Regions from separate parts of the Homo sapiens genome. Here region 2 is linked to region 1. Evidence: promoter capture Hi-C in human tissues and cell types (Jung and others, 2019). All regions are on one chromosome and are shown on one strand. Each heading gives the region's core, a stretch centred on a gene start or on the middle of the fragment in contact. The rest is flanking DNA. Distances are from core to core; before and after follow the strand shown. Region 1 holds the start of APC2 (APC regulator of Wnt signaling pathway 2). Region 2 holds the start of ONECUT3 (one cut homeobox 3).

Region 1 (3,102 bases), core at 1-2,500:
GGTCACCATCCCATGCCCAGCCAGGTGGAAGGACCAGATGACGTGCAAAGCAACACATGTCTGCCTCCTGCTCCCCAAACCCAGGCCTCCCCCACGTGGTTCTTCTCAGCTGACCGAAGCCAAGCCTCAGACACCTTCCCTCTCCCCACATTCGGTGGTCATTTCTGCATCCTCATCAGACTAAGCTAGTCCCTCCAAGCTCTGCCCAGCGGGATCATGCCTCCCCCAGCTCCTGACACCCCTCTGTGAGGACATTCTGATCAGCCTCTTCCTGGCCTCCCACAGTCCCCCATGCACAGCCAGAGGGAGCTTTAAACGTCACAAGTGAGATCCCATTTCTCCCATGCTCAAACACCTTCCATGGCTCCCCAGTGCCCTCAGGATACGCTCCGACTCCTCCATGTACACCGCGACTCACTTAGAGGCTGGAGGCTCTCTTCTCTCAGGCCTTTGCACGTGCAGTTGCCCTGCCTAGAGCACCTTTTCTAAGTCCTGCCATCCCACACAGTGCAGCTTCTTCCACGAAGCTCTTCTGCCTACTTTCACCCCCAGGTTGCATCGTGTAGCCTCCTGGGGGCCTTCCTGAGCGATCACTCCCTGAAGGCACCATGACTGGGGGCTGGTCTTATTGAGCGGGCTGCATTTCAGGGGAGGGAGGCACAGGTATGGGAAGCCAGGCCCAAAGGGGCCTTTCTCCTTCCTTTAATCCAAACCCCCTCTTTCCAGAGAGGGAAACTGACACCCAGAGAGGTGCAGCAACACCCCCGAAGACACACCACTGGCCTGCCCATCCCTTCCTCCGATCACCTCAGGGAGGTCCGGATGGTGAAGCCCGTGAGTGGGTGTGTGCGCAGGACCGGCTGCAGAAACGCTGACGCCCAGCTCACCGGGACTCAGTTTCCCCTCCAGCTCCCACTCTGGGGAAATGGAGGGTCCAGAGTCTGTGCTGACGGGCAATGCTGAGAGCCAGGGATGGAAACCTCGACGCGAGGCGGAGGTCGCGCCCCTGCCCTCCTCCCCGAGGACACACACCCGCTTACGTGCAGCTGGGCTGGCGGGGCGCCTGGGTCTGGGGCCTCCTCCCTCTGCGCGGCTCCGCGGGCCCCACCGGAAATCCCGGCCCGGGGTGGCCTCGGAGCGCGCGGGCTCCGGGGTCTCCGCGGCGCGGGCAGGGGCTCCGGGGCGGACAAAGCCCGGTCCGGGCCTGGGCAGGCGGCGCTGCCGCTCCTAGCGCTGGGCGAGACCACCGCGAGCGGGGGAGGATGCGGGATGAGGGATGCGGGTGAGACAGCCAATGAGGGCGCGGGAAGACGGGCTGGTGCCATGGCAACAGCCAATGGCGGCCCGGGGCGGGGACCGGCGTCGGCCGCGGGGCGTCGGGCCTCCGCGCGGGCTCAGGGGCCGTGAGTGCGGGGGGCGAAACCCCCCCGAGGGAAGGGGGTGCCCCGAGGACCAAGATTCCTGTGTCCCGCACTTTATTGCAGGGTGCAACGGCCTCTTAAAACCTCCTGCGTCTGGATTTGCAGAATTGGAGAGTAAAACATCAAATCCTGGATGTTACATCAGCATCTTGGCGGGGGAGGGGTTTCCAGGGCAGTGGCCGGGCTGGGGCCAGGCCTGCACCCACCCCACAGGTCCAGCCTGGCCTGGTGCAGGTGCGTCAGGGTGGGACAGGGTTCGGGTCCAGGCTGGAGCTCCCTGAGGGTCCTGCCTGGTGGGGAGGGGAGAGGGGAGGAGGGGCAGGGCCACTGGGGAGCACCTGGGACGCTGCATCTCCCCACATTTCTCCCTGTCTCCCCAACGGAGCGTCAGATCCTCCTGTAACTCCGTTGCTCTTCATGTCCCTCTCTCTTTCTGTCTCCCCCTCTGTTCTCTGTCTCTCAATCTCTGTCTCCATGTGTCTCTGCCCCTGGTGGGTGGCACACTTAATTCACCCTCACGGACCGAAGGCCAGAGGAGGGAAGGGCCAGGGGTCCCAGGAGTCGCCATCTCCAGGTGTCCTGGATGCTCCATGAGTCCCTGGAAGCCATTTGAAGGTTTAACACACAGAGCCCGTCCCTGCAGCTCGGAGCAGCCCTTCCTGCTCTGGACACAGACTCACAGCACAGAAAGGGAGGCGACTGGGGCCAGAAGAGTGATTTTTTTCCGTGCTGGGCAGGCAGGGCAAATCATTCGCCGCTCAACCCTCGGTTTCCTCCTCTGTAAAATGGAGAGGAGGCGGAAGATTCTGCAAGGGCTGGTGCAGGGAATGATAGGAGAGGGTGGGAAGGTCCGAGTATTCAAGGCCCCGTAGACAAAGGCAAGGGAGGACCCGTGCTGTTTCCTGTTGGGCCTTGAGCTGAAGACCCGAGGGCCTTGTCCCGGGCCAGCACTGCCAGGGGCTGAGAGCCCTTCGGCCTGGCTGTCTGGGAGCCCCCAGAGCTGGACGCAGCTGTCCCCACTGGTTGGGTCTGGGGAGGCAATGCAGTGGGCAGACACAGGGGATCTTTTCTTTTTTCTTTTTCTTTTTTTTCTTTTTTTTTTTTTTGAGACGGAGTCTTGCTCTGTAGCCCAGGCTGGAGTGCAGTGGCACGTTCTCGGCTCACTGCAAGCTCCGCCTCCCAGGTTCACGCCATTCTCCTGCCTCAGCCTCCCGAGTAGCTGGGACTACAGGCGCCCGCCACCACGCCCAGGCTAATTTTTTGTATTTTTTAGTAGAGACGGGATTTCACGTTAGCCAGGATGGTCTCGATCTCCTGACCTCGTGATCCACCCGCCTCGGCCTCCCAAAGTGCTGGGATTACAGGCGTGAACCACCACGCCCGGCCTTTTTTTTTTTTTTTTTTTAGATGGGGTCTTGCTCTGTCCCCCAGGCTGCAGTGCAGTGGCGCCATCTCGGCTCACCGCAACCTCCGCCTCCTGGGTTCAAGTGATTCTCCTGCCTCAGACTCCTCAGTAACTGGGATTACAGGCATGTACCACCTTGCCAGCTAATTTTTGTATTTTTAATAGAGAGGGGGTTTCACCGTGTTGGTCGGGCTGGTCTCAAACTCCTGACCTCATGATCCGCCCGCCTCGAAGGGGATTTTTTTCTGGAGGCTGGAAGGCTGCCCTGAGAAGTGA
Region 2 (3,102 bases), core at 369-2,868, 300 kb before region 1:
ACTAGAGAACCCCTACGCGCTCCCGAAAGGGGCAGAAGCGGCGACCGGGGGGCGGGGAGGCGGCACAATCCCTTTCTCCCTTTTGGCAACGGTACAAACGGGCAGCGGCGCGGATCGCGGTCTAGCTTCCTGATAGGGGGTCCCGGGCTGCCGGGGCGCACGGGCGGGGCTTGGGGCGCTGGCCCCGGGCATCGGCCGCCGCCCCGCTAGGTGCTCGGGAGTCCAGAGCCGGCGCCCCCAGGGTCTGGCCCTGCGCGCCACGCTCCTACCTGCCAAGCGCAGCGCCGACATGCGCTGGAACTCTGGCTCCTGCAGCCACTTCCACATCCTGCGGAAGGTCTCGCGGCCGGATTTGAGCTTGCTCCACGGCTTGGGGTTGCGCAGCAGGTCGGAGAGCGTGCCCTGAGAGCGACACAGGATCCGCTGCGCGAAGATTGCCTGCGGGATGCTGTAGCGCTTCAGCTCCGCCGTGATGCGCTGCGCCACCTCCTTGGTGTTGATCTCCTCGGCCGCTGCGCCCGCGCTGGGGCCGCCGCCGCTCCCGCCGGGGCCGCCGCCTCCCCCGTGCGGCCCGTGCGCCCCGGCCGCCGCCAGCCCGCCCAGCGGCGCCAGCAGCCCCGCGGCGCTCCCGCTGCCCGCTCCGCCGCTGCCTGTGCCGCCGCCGCCTCCGGGCAGCCCGCGGGCCAGTGCGTCCTCCGCGCGTCCCAGCAGCGCGGCGTGCGGCTCGAAGGCGGCGGGCGGCAGCAGCTTGTCCCCAGCCAGGTGGCCTGGCGGGCCGTAGGCGGCCAGCGGCGGGGGTGGTGGCGGCGGCGGGGGCTGCGGGGCGCCGTGCAGCGCGGGCGGCAGCGCGTTGGGCAGCGGCGACAGCGGCGACCCCATGGCGGGCAGCTCCTTGCCGTAGGGTCCGTAGAGGTGGCCCACGGAGGCGAGCGCCGCCCGCTCGTCGCGCATGAGGGTGAAGCTGCCGCTCACGCTGGCCGCCAGACGCTGCGGCGGGGGTGGCGGGGGCGGCGCGGCCGCCGGGTGCGGGTGCGCGTGGGGATGGCCGCCGTGCGCCCCGGCCACGGCCGCGGCCGCCGCGTGCTGGTGGAACTTGTCGGCCACGGCCGCGAGCGGCGGCAGGTGCTGCAGGGGCGTGAGCGTCGTGTAGGTGCCGCCCAGGCCCGGCGCCTCGCAGGCCATGCCCATTGCCGGGTGCAGCGGGCCCGCCAGTTCCCCGCGGAAGTCCGCGCCGCCGCCCGCGCTGCCCGCGCCGCCCGCGCCCCCGGCGCCCCCACCGCCGCCGCCGCCGCCGCCGTCCAGCAGGCTCGCCATGCCGGCCACCAGGCCCGGGCGCCCGGGCGCCACCAGGCCGCGGTGCTGCGCCGCCGCCGAGCGCGCGTGGCCCGGGCTCAGCAGCTCGCCCGCCTGCGCGTGGGCCACGCTGTGCAGGCCCCCCAGGCTCTCCAGGCTCAGCTCCATGCTCGGCTGCCCTCCCGCCGCGCGCGCTCCTCAGCGCCGGCCCCTAGTGCTCAAGGCCGCTGCATGACTCCCGCCCGCTCCCCGGTGGCTGCGCGCGAGGCTGCCAGGCTGCGCGGCGCACGGCCCGGCCCGGCTGCGAGCGCGGCCACCAGGATGTGGCAGGGGAGCGGCCGCCGGCGCCCGGGCCCGGGTCTGACGTCAGCGCCCCCGCCCACCCGCTCCTGCCACCGCTGCCTCCCGCAGCCTCGCTCTCCGCCCGCCCCGGCCCCACTCGAGCACCAAGCAGGCCGAAGTCGGCCAGACTTGGGGCTTCGGCGTCCCTGGCCACTGCGCCCGCCCGCGCCCGCTGGGGCAGGCCGTACCCGGGGGACAGCGGGCGGGGGTCCGAGGACAGACTCTGCCCAGGTGGGGCTGGGGGCCTCGACCCAGAGTCTCCGATTTCGCGTCTCTGTGTGATTCTCTCCAGAGTCCCAGATGTGGCTTTCTGCCTGGCACCCCCAAGTCCATCTCCAGGGAGTTTCTGGGAGTGTGGCTGGACGGTCGCCTGTAATGTACGTGTCCCCCCCCCCCCCCGTTCCCTACAGACCCCCAGGAGCTAGATCCCCACTGCAAGCTCAGCTTCCCCCGACTCCCACTCACACCTACGGAGTCACAGCCCCCTTCCCACAACCTCTTTGTGGAGGAAGTGGGGGAAAAGGGAGGTCCTAAGGCTAGGTCAGGGCCTCCGTGCGCCCCAGGGGTCAGCCTCTGCCCATGTGTGGGCACCTGGGCCTCCGTTTCCCCAACTGTACAATGGGCTGCCCGGCCTCGGGGTTGCCAAAGGCCCCTTCTAATTGCAGGGCCTTTTTACAGTGCGGCCGCTGGAGGCACTGGAGCCTGGGGGTGACCACTAAGAGCCCCTGTCACCCTCCAGCCCACGGAGGCTGAGGCTGGATCCCCTGTCTTCTGAGACGTCGCTGGTGCAAACTCCTCTTTGTCCCTGGGGCTTCTCTTCAATGTGGGGGGAGGCAGGGGTCTCCTTTTTCTCAGCACCTGGAGACAGGTGAGCCCCAGGGGCCCCTGGGAACTGGGATAGATGGGGGAAGGGCTCCTATAATCAGAGAGACCCCCAGGGGACTAGATCCCGCCAGTGGGGTAAGGTCAGGGCTGCGGATCTGGAGGGGCCAGACCAGAATCTAGAGGATGCTCTGTCTTGTAGGCCAGAGGCTACGGTGCAGAGTCCAAAACCAGCCTCAGCCCCTTCCTGCTTCCCCGTTGCCTCTGCCCCCCCCACCCCCGGGGTAACGCTTGTGCACTTTCTAGAAGAGGAAGGGGATGGGTCAGGCAGTCGGTTCGCGGGAGCCCCCAGTTACCCCCATCTCAGAGGGTTGCATCAGGGCTCAAAGCTGAAGGAAGAGGGGAGGACACAGTCAGGCTGTCACTTCCCCTTTGGTGCAAACCTTCTGGGCAAACCCCGGCCCCAGCTTTGCACCTGCATCCAGATTTCCTGGCCCCTGTAGACGTGGCTACACATTGGAGATGCGATTTTCTGAACCAAGACTAGGTTGGCTCTGGAATAGGGCCCTTTCTGTGCCTCAGTTTCCCCTTCTCTGGTGTGGGAGGGGGTGCCCTCCAGCCTGCCCAGCTGGGAGCCGGAGGTGA

The links. Contacts are between HindIII fragments. The study calls those that stand out against the background at their distance.
Region 2: a contact is called between the fragment with the promoter of ONECUT3 here and the fragment with the promoter of APC2 in region 1, in 1 of the 25 tissues and cell types used here (H1 embryonic stem cells).

The regions. Positions count from the first base shown.
Region 1 is chr19:1,448,269-1,451,370 of GRCh38, reverse strand. It overlaps APC2 (APC regulator of Wnt signaling pathway 2), which reads right to left and starts at 1,250. Exons shown (of 15, transcript NM_005883.3): 1 at 1,033-1,250. RefSeq lists a silencer at 1,204-1,403. The HindIII fragment of the contact is 30,284 bases long and covers 1-3,102 here.
Region 2 is chr19:1,752,022-1,755,123 of GRCh38, reverse strand. It overlaps ONECUT3 (one cut homeobox 3), which reads right to left and starts at 1,618. Exons shown (of 2, transcript NM_001080488.2): 1 at 270-1,618. The coding sequence starts at 1,461. The HindIII fragment of the contact is 24,245 bases long and covers 1-3,102 here.